Regions from separate parts of the Homo sapiens genome. Here region 2 is linked to region 1. The links are contacts of gene promoters, found by promoter capture Hi-C in blood cells and fetal thymus (Javierre and others, 2016). All regions are on one chromosome and are shown on one strand. The core of a region is centred on a gene start or on the middle of the fragment in contact, and the rest is flanking DNA. Distances in the headings are between cores, read along the strand shown. Region 1 holds the start of BPHL (biphenyl hydrolase like). Region 2 overlaps SERPINB1 (serpin family B member 1).

Region 1 (5,085 bases), core at 1,232-3,731:
TTGAGAGCTCAAAACTCCCCCCTGCCCCTTCTCAGCTGTGTTACCCAGGCCTTGCTTCCTAACCTTTCGCCGTCATTATGCAAGTATAGAGTCCTGAAATTGAGCAGCTCAAAATTACTTTTCAGCTGTGTTACCTAGGGCTTGCTTCCTAACCTTTCTTAGCCTCAGTTGCCTCATCTATAAATGGAGAGTGCAATAGCACAGAAGGCTAATGTGAAGATTAAAGAAATATGATATATCATAAGGTGCCTGGCACAAAAATGGCAGTTTTTTTAAACTGTACGATCTTGCTATATATAAAGAACTGGTTGTCAGGTATGTTACTTAAAAATAGTGACACCACGCTGGACGCGGTGGCACACACCTGTAATCCTAGCACTTTAGGAGGCTGAGGCGGGTGGATCACCTGAGGTCAGGAGTTTGAGACCAGCCTGGCCAACATGGCAAAACCTCGTCTCTACTAAAATTACAAAAATTAGCCGGGCATGGTGGCGGGTGCTTGTAATCTCAGCTACTCAGGAGGCTGAGGCAGGAGAATTGCTTGAACCTGCGAGGCAGAGGTTACAGTGAGCTGAGATTGCGCCATTGCACTCCAGCCTGGGCAACAAGACCAAAACTCCGTCTCAAAAAAAAAAAATTGTGACACCAATAACCTAAAACTCAGTGCTACCGTTTTTTATTAGCACAAGGGTAACTGGTGTTGAAACTGTACAGACAGCTATTTTTATCATTTCTGAGATGAAACCCCAATCAACATATCAGGAAAAAAGGAAATACTGACCTCACCAAAGATTTCTGAAAGTCAAACGATATTAAACTCAAACATTATATATGTCTCTTTCCTTTTATGCAGGAATTAATGTGATAGATTTATGTTGAGAGTAGAATATGAAAACTTTTGCATAGTCTGTATTTAGGCCAAAACTGCCTTTACTACTCAAGAAAGTCCAATGGGCCAGTGAGGACACTGCAGGTGACAGAAATTTCTATGAGTGTAACACCTACAAGCACTGTGCTCACAGGACTGACTGTTACACCAAAAAGGTCTCTTGGAGGAGAAGAAATGCAATATGCAAAGAAGCTGTTGTCTCCAATTATTCAAGCCAAGGCTACAACAGTAGCCACAAATCTGCCAGTTATTTCCAATTAAGGCAGAACGATTGACTTAAAAAGCAATAGTTGTTTTTTTTCTCCACTGAGCTTTCAATTAGATAATGTCTATAACCTTTATAAAGCTGCAATTATACAGCCAAAAGAAAAAAAATTAATTGTGGTAAAACATACATAAAACTTACCACTTAAACCACTTTTAGGTGTGTAGTTCAGTGGCAGTAAGTACACTCACAATGTAATGCAGGCATCACCAAAATCCATCCCCAGGACTTTTTCATCTCTCCAAACTGAAACTCTGTCCCCATGAAACACCAACTTTCCATTCCCCCTTCCACCAGCCCTCAACAACCCCCATTCTATTTTCTGTCCCTATAAGTTTGACTCCTCTAGGTACCTTATTATATAAGTGGAATCACACAGTATTTGTCTTTTTTTGACTGGCTTACCTCCCTCAGCATAGTGTCCTCCAGGTTCATCCATGTAGTAGCAAGTGTCAGAATTTCGTTCTTTGTTCAGGCTAAAAAATGTTCCCTTGCATGCACAGACAACATTTTGCTTATCCATGTATCTGTTTTTGGACACTTAAATTGCCTCCACCCTTTTGGCTATTGTGAATAGTGCCGCTGTCAACGTGAGTGTAAAAACATTTCTTCTTGTACACCCTGTTTTAAATTCTTTTGGGTTATATACCCAGAAAAGAAAATGCTGGATCATATAACTGATTTGTTGAGGAACCGCAGTATTGTTCATCACATGGCTGCACCATTTTACATTCCCAACAGCAATATACAAGGGCTTCAATTTCTCTACATCTTCACCAACACTAATTTCTGGGGGTTTTGCTAGTAGCCATCCTAATGGGCGTGAAGTGGTATAAACAAAATTTAGATCCCATCATCTCCGAAAAGCAAATACACTTCCTAGTACTAGTCAGTACTAAATAGGTGCACAGCGTTTAGAACTTTACTTGATCCAACATAGCAGCCTGCCTAGAGCCGGAGCCCCGCCCACTCCGGAGTCCCGCCTGGACGCCGACGCAGCGAGGGCGCTATGGCTGGCGGCCTCGCCTCCTGGAAAGGCCATGGTCGCTGAGGCGACGAGCGAGGGCGGGGCAGCGCCGACGGGGACACTCATCCCGGGAGCCAGAGCCAGCACCGAGAGGGGACGGTCTACGCGGGTGCCGGCGGTTCCAGGACTGCGAAACCACGAGCCGAGTTTCGGTCGCCCATGGGAAAGCACCCGGCAGGGCGTGGCTTCGGGGCGGGGCGGGCAGAGGGCGGAGCAGGATGGAGAGGCGAGGTGGGCGGAGCAGAGGGCGTGGCTTCGGGGCAGAGTGGGCCGGGTACCGCGCTTGGTCTTAGCGCATGCGCACTCCCGGCAGCTACGCGACCTGTGACCATGGTGGCTGTGCTGGGCGGCCGGGGCGTGTTGCGCCTGCGGCTGCTTCTCTCAGCGCTGAAGCCCGGGATCCACGTCCCACGGGCCGGACCCGCGGCCGCGTTCGGGTAATGGCGGCCACCTCGCCCCGGGGATCCCCAGCATCGGCGCGCTCGAGGGGCGGCGGGAGGGGCGCGTGCCGACAGCAGGAGTTCCCGGCGCGCGGGCACGGGGCGTGGGCGCGGCCTGGCTGCCCTGTCGCCCTTTGTGCCGCGAGACCCCGATCCTGGGGGCCAGCCGCGCTTGGTGCTCGAGCCCCTCGATCGTGCATGCGCCTCGGTCAGCCTCAGTTCAAGGAGTCTGGAGCCGTGGAGGCTTGGGCTATAGAGTGCAGCCCCTTCAGTGTGCAGACCAGAGAGACCCAGGGAGATACATTTGCCTGTAGTATGGACTCACCCGTGACGGAGCACGGACTAGAATCCCAACGCCCTCATTAGTCCATTGCTCTGTCCAGAGTCCACACTAAGGGCATAAGGACAATAATCTCTTCTTTCTCTTATGTCAGAAATCAGCCTGAGCCTGAGTACCGCTAAGGCTTTAATCACGGGTCCCGAGAGCCCTAAGTCTTCTCTTTGCTTGCTGATCTCGTACCTTAATGTGCAAAAGAATCACGTTGGGAACTGAAAATTCAGAATCCTGGGCCTCACTCCCAGAGGATCTGATCTACATGTGTGGAGATGCCCAGGAATCTGCTTTATTCTCTTTTGTCCTCCCACCTGTCCCCCCATTTCAGGTAAAACAATAACAAAAAAACTGGATTAATTTCTGACCTTCTGTCTTGAAAATGGATACTCTTGGTCCCAAGAGATACTGGGCAGAAATGTGGATAGAGCGGCATGAAGCTTGTTTTACTTTATTCTCTACATACATCCCTACACACATGCAAACACACGTATACAACGAACGTACACAGTGCATGTGCGCAGTTGACTGTTGATGGGCTACTTTCATAAAGTCAGTACTAGATAGGTACACAGCGTTTAGAACTGTACTTGATCCAACATAGAAACTTTTAGTTTGAAAACTTGATTTAGAAGGAGAAAAGAGGGCAAATCTGACCAGCTTTTAAAATTTCATATTGCAATTGACTAGCTCCTTTAATTTTAGAATTATTATAAGATGGTCAGGGCTATTTTGATAGATGGAAAAACATGTTAATGGCTACAGCTGTATAAATTAACAGTGAAAATGATTATTTTTTCCAGTTTCCTGTCTGCAGAAAGGCATCGAAATAAGTTACTGTGATTGTACCAATATAGTTCTTTTTTTTTTTGAGACTGACTCTCGCTCTTTTGCCCATGCTGGAGTGCAGTGTTGTGATCTCGCTCACTGCAACCTCTGCCTCCCAGGTTTAAGCGATTCTCGTGGCCTCAGCCTCCCGAGTAGCTGGGATTACAGGTACCTGCCACCATGCCCGGCTAATTTTTGTGTTTTTAGTAGAGATGGGGTTTCACCATGTTGGCCAAGCTGATCTCGAACTCTTGACCTCAAATGATCCACCTGCCTCAGCCTCCCAAAGTGCTGGGATTACAGGCGTGAGCCACCGCTCTCGGCCTACCAGTATAGTTCTGATAGGTTATTTAATGGTTGAGGAAGGCCCCATCCATCTAGTTGCATTGCAGATCATTCTTCCTAAAATATCTCTGAAGAAACAGGTTTTTCTGGATTTTGTACGGCCGTTTTATAAATGCAGCTGCAAGTTGATATGACATATAATCTGGGAAAACAAGCAGTGGTATTAGTTAATCCTGAAATGCAGCTGTAGCTCAGTGTCAGTAGGTAAAAGGATTCGTGTAAAAACTTTGCTTCAGAATAGCCAGTGCCCAACCTACAACTGACTTTTGTTCCAAAAACTTGTTTGTAAGTCTGCTGTTTGGAACTTTGACCCTTATTTCAAAATCCGTAAGGTGATTTATTCCTGGGTCAGGTCAAGAAAAGCCTTTTCTACCTGAAATTGGATATTATGTGCAGTTATAAATATTAATAATTCACATAACCTAACAATCTTCCTAAAAAATATTTTCCAAGTTCAACCTTGGGATGCCCTGCCAGAGAATCAGAGACTGTCCTTCTGCTGACGCTTGCCACCACGCTGTATCTGGCAGTCAGAGTGTGGCCCCGGTGCCTGAGCCCTCTTAGGACTCTGTTCAGCCATGAGGTTAGAGAGGAATCATGGCCTCTGGAGTTCTAATGGCCCCGTGGCCACTTCCTAGCTCTGTGAGTGTGGGCAGATTGTTCAACCTCTCTGAGCCTCCTGCCTTGCAGCGTTTTTGTGAGGATTTGAAACAATAAATGTAAAAGCCTGGGGATATAATAAACATGAAGTAATTAGTAGGCACAATGGGAATATTTATATAATAGTACAATATATAAGAGATGTAAAAATAATTCATCAAGATTCATGCAAATTTCAAGCCCTGAAGGTAGCAAATACTTTATTGTAGATAATGGCTACTTCACAAAACATACACAAAAGAAATAGCTGAACATACAATATGATAATAGCAGTTTCTTTTTTTTTTTTTTTTTTTTTTT
Region 2 (5,085 bases), core at 101-2,600, 280 kb before region 1:
TTTCACTTTACAATCAGAAAAAAAACTAATGCAAAAATACAACCAAAAGAAAGGCCACATTGATTGTTATACAATGTATTAAAAGTCTGTACATGCAAATGATTAACATTAGACCCCCTTCCTGATAGCAAGGATGATGAATAGGTGGATAGGGAGGAGACGGAGAGCACAGAGCAGGCTAGAGTCCCTACATATAATGGAAACCTCATGCAAAGATCATACTAGTAAATAGGCCTAACATGTCACATGAGGCTTTTTCTGTCTTGTACCCATTGAAAATTTAATTCACTATCTATATGAATTGTGATGAGAACAAACAGTGTAATAATAGAATTTTATAGTACGTGATGAAGATATATGCTACACTATTTGGGGCTTTTCAATCTTTTTCCTCAGTAAAACAATCCTCATCTTACTGTAATTTCCTCTAAAGCTAATTCAAGAGCCTTTCCATGAGCTGCCACTAACCAGTATTATATTTAGTATAGATCTTTAATGACCCCATCACAAGTGTCCACTGAAAGTAGCTGGCCATCTTTCTTGAAAAATGAAACGTTAGCCGGGCACAGTGGCTCACAGCTATAGTCCCAGCTACTCAGAAGGCTGAGGCAGGAGGATTGCTGGAAGCCAGGAGGTCAAGACCAGCCTAAACAACATAGTGAGACCTTGTCTCTATAAGTAAATTTAAAAAAAAATTAACTCTGGGCTTTAGTGTAGTAAGTGTTGATGGGCTACATTTACAAAGGAATGACAAACTACTGGAAAATGCACCATCAGTGAACACTTAACAAGCACCTACCTACCATGCGACACACACATGCAAGAGGAACCACAAAGCATGAAGCCCAGGAGCCATACCTTCTTCAGGCCCGTGGACTCGTCCTCAATGTCATCCGGCAGCAGGATGACCATGCTGAGCTCCTCGCCTTGGTAAGGCAGTTCCAGCACACGGCACTTAAGGTCCTCGATGTAGCCATATGCAAATTTTTTCTTCTGATACATCATTTTCACAGTTTTTCTGTCTTTCTGAACAGTTTTAAAAAATCACTGAAATTATTCTCTGCATTCTTTTAGAGCAATGCATGACTCTGTACAGTTACCTCACCTCACCTTATTCAATCTGAATGGTGCATTCGTCGTGGCTTCTTTCATGAATTTATCCTTCCAGTTTCCCTTGAAATAGATGGCATTTACTAGCACAAGTTTGGTCATGTTATCAACCATGCCCGAAGCCAACAGTTCCGGAATTTTTCCTAAAAAAAAATCAAGTTAGCGTAAAAAAAATCCAAATCGGAATTCCAAATTTGAACTGACAATATATTAGCACGGAAATGCAATTCAAATATATAATTTCTACTTAATTTTCATTTAACAAGATATTAACTTAGGAAAGCCCTACTCACTAACATGTCTCTACTTTAAGTATAACAACCTGTGGGGCAGACAGACCAGGATGACACACAAACTTCCCACAAGGACCTGACATTTTAAACAAGTCAAATGTGCCGAAAGACAAAAGACAGGAAAATTCTCCTTTTCTGGACTGTATGATAAACAATGAGCCTTATTTTGTAACAACCATTCTTTTTTAGAAAAAAAAAATTCTTAATGAAGATATCTTTAGTCATCAGTAAATCACTTCTTCAAATCGCTGAGTAGATGCCTACTCTCACAAAAAAAGGTTTAAACAATATCCAAAAGGCAGAACAAGACCAAGCATGGTGGCGCACACCTGCAGTCCCAGTGCTTTGGGAGGTGGAGATGAGAAGATTCCTTGAGCCCAGGAGGTCAAGGCTGCAGTGAGCCACGATCGCACCACTGCACTCAAGCCTGGGCGACAGAGCAAGACTCTGTCTCTTAAAAACAAAAAACAAACAAACAAACAAAAAAACCAGCAGAACATACTCCATGGAAATAAAGGTCACCTTCGTGACCATAAGTATGGCTGGGAACAATTCCCATAATGGAAGACAGGTCTTCTGGAGTGGGTTGACTAATACAGGGCTATGTAAGAAGAGAGATGTAGCAAAGAAATAAATTGCACCCTAAAAGCAAGTCAGTCCCCACCTACCACAACTTTTTTACTGGACAAGATGTTGGCAAAAAATTTACAACCACAGTAGTTTGTGAATATTGATTTCAGGTATTTCCATGAAATTCCAGGACATTTCTTTCCATATGAGTATTAGGTAATTTTTGGCAGGCTGAATTCTCCTCAAAATTTTAATTCCTTTTTTGCTGTATTCAGTGTTGGTTTTAACTTTATTTTTTATTTTTTATTATTTTTATTATTTTTTTTACGACGGAGTCTCGCTCTGTTGCCTAGGCTGGAGTACAGTGGCATGATCTCGGCTCACTGTAACCTTTACCTCCTGTGTTCGAGAGATTCTCCTGCCTCAGCCTCCAGAGTAGCTGGGATTACAGGTGTGTGCTACCACACCTGGCTAAATTTTTTGTATTTTTAGTAGAGACAGGGTTTCATCATGTTGGCCAAGCTGGTCTTGAACTCCTGACCTCAAATGATCCGCCCGCCTTGGGCTCCCAAAGTGCTGGGATTACAGGCATGAGCCACCGCGCCTGCCAATGTTGGTTTTAACTTTGAAATGCAACTTTAAAAGTTTTGGGGAGCTGATGAGAAAAAAGGATTTAGCTGCTTGAGTTAAATCATGTTTAAGTTTCCACTCTGGTGAACTTCGAACATGTGAGAGCTGTCCAGCAACGTGCAGTGCAGACTTCACGCACCGGCAGCGTCCTCTGACTGTAACCACGATGTGCGCCAGGACTGTGGGAGCTGGGGAGGGAATAACTGCAGGTAGGGAAGGCGGACTGAGGAAACGAATGACATGACCAGCGCATAATGATTCCATTCTGCCCAGGCTCTCACCTTCTGTCTGTCCTTTGACCCACTGGTTTATGGTCTTCCTTGCATCTTCAGAGGCATGCTGAAAATCCACACTGGCCAGGTCAGCACCATATGTTTTCTGAGTCGAAACCAAGAACTCCTATTAAAAAAAAGGAAAAGGAAATATATATATAACTCCTACTACATATAGAAATTGTTTTCTAAAATCCCAAAAAGCAACAGAAATTGTCCTAAAAGGCTACAATTCCATGTAACACAAAATTTCTAACTCTTATAGTTTTTCTTATAGTAGTAAAAATCATTTAACATTAAATTTACGATCTTAGCCACTTTTAACTGTGCATTCCAGTAGTGGTAAGCCTAACCCTTATACTGTTGTTGTTATATAGAAATTACCACTCTTTTCTGAACTTTGACTAAGATTTCACAAACACTGATTGTACTCTTGCTTCAGTAAAACCTCCAAGAGCTATCTTTTCACTAAAAAGACTGTAACACAAAATCACCATGTCAATTAAAGTTTGCATTCTGTCGTGTTTGCCTTCCATATTGTTTTTGCCATGTTTGCCTTCTGTATTGTTTTTCTGAAAGTTTACAAATATTAAAACTGACCTCCATGACTTGATTGTGCTGGAAAATATCTGCACTGTCTAGTGGGGTTTTAGAATGTGAAGGGCAAAGTACTTACAGGAAGGAAATTGTAAGTTTTCTCTCCATATAATCTATTAGCAAGTTTCAGAATATAAGACGCTCCACGTTTGTTGATATCAGCATTCAGACTCTGGAATCTTGAATGAACCTCTTCAACCGTGTTGAAATGGAAAGTCTAAAATAAAGAAAATCTTCTTTCTACAACCATTTATTTTGAAACTATAAAGTGATTCCTTGGTGTTTCCTTCTATCACATTAAATTAATGTGTTTTTATTACTAATTATTGATGATCCCAAACCCAATACTTTATTAATTTGTCATTGCAGAACAAACAATAGGAAATCCAAAATTTATGGCTTCGTGAGACAGAATGTTTACAACTTTACACATTGCTTTTACATCACTCTTTGTTACACTTGCAGTTCCACAAATGTGGGTGGTTAAGATACTAAATATTTATATATAAGTCTGCCTTTTCCAAAGAAAATAATAAATGGTATGTTCATATTTATATTCTGTATCAAATATAATTTTACTGAAAGTTCTCAGAAATAAGCAGTAAAAATAGGATTCATCCTCTATTCAGAACCACAAAGATAGTACAGACTGAAGCTTTTAAAATTTTATTACCCTATTAACATCAGTAACTCACTTATTTTAAAATAACTTCCTTAAACTTAACATTCTGGCAAAAGTTTAATTCCCCATGTATCAGTTACAAATCAAGAGGCCCTTTGTGGTTTTATGAGACCTAGGCTGGTTCCTTTATGATTAAGACACAAAGAACAAAATTGCATAGGGTACGAAGTCCACATTACTCACCGAGATATGGAATGTTTGCACTGTGCCTATGCTCCATCTGCTTTAATGGAAATGGGGGAGGAGTCCTTAAAACTATTCTTTGCTGAGGTTTTAAAGTCCCTGGAAAACCTCAAGCTAGGAACTGATATAACCCTGCAAGAAGCAACTAACAATTAGTAACAGAGGTTTTTTTTTTTTAATGGATTTAAAAAAAACATTTAAAATGCTTTCATATCTAAAGTGATGAGTAATAGAAGTTTCGCAGCCCCTTGAACTTGAATCCCAGGCTGCACCTTGCCAAGGAACAGGTGCAGTGTAATTTGCGGCAGGTATGTTAGAAGAGCCTCCACTTTTACCACTCCTTTCTGCTGAGCTTAGAGAGAGAGAGCTAGAGTTCTCTTCTCAGAATTAAAGAGTACCAAGCACAGAAGTCCTCTCCATGTCCATTATGGACAAGAAGGAAGGCTGGGCATGAGAGTGACCTGTCACATCGCCAAGGGCTGGGTCCCGCCCCTGAAGCTGCGGGTCTCCCCCTCACCTCCCCTGCAGGGCGTGCTATGCCACAGCCCACTGAGCCATGCGCAGCACCCTGGGACTACAGAACCACAGGGTCACTTTTTCTCTTTTCCTTGCAAAAAAGCAATGCCACTATCTCCACTATAATGCATTCCCTATGTCTTATTCCTCTCATTATGCTTGAAAGTAGTGTTATATAACAGGCAATATTTATGAGTTGCATATCATCATATGCAAAGCAAAAACTGGAAGA

Evidence for each region. The method cuts DNA at HindIII sites, captures the fragments that hold promoters and counts their contacts. A CHiCAGO score of 5 or more calls a contact.
Region 2: a contact is called between a fragment that was not itself captured here and the fragment with the promoter of BPHL in region 1, in 1 of 17 cell types (neutrophils). The highest score is 5.8, in neutrophils.

What each region holds. Positions count from the first base shown.
Region 1 is chr6:3,116,230-3,121,314 of GRCh38, forward strand. It overlaps BPHL (biphenyl hydrolase like), which reads left to right and starts at 2,482. Exons shown (of 7, transcript NM_004332.4): 1 at 2,482-2,618. The coding sequence starts at 2,512. LOC107986556 (a long non-coding RNA gene) reads right to left here and starts at 2,418. Exons shown (of 4, transcript XR_001743928.3): 1 at 1,560-2,418. RefSeq lists an enhancer at 1,716-2,351 and a silencer at 2,390-2,779. The HindIII fragment of the contact is 8,418 bases long and covers 1-3,390 here.
Region 2 is chr6:2,834,998-2,840,082 of GRCh38, forward strand. It overlaps SERPINB1 (serpin family B member 1), which reads right to left. Exons shown (of 7, transcript NM_030666.4): 3 at 3,552-3,689; 4 at 2,885-3,002; 5 at 1,111-1,253; 6 at 859-1,026. Among named protein-coding and RNA genes, the nearest start is that of SERPINB1, 4.3 kb to the right of the region's middle. The HindIII fragment of the contact is 5,549 bases long and covers 1-4,125 here.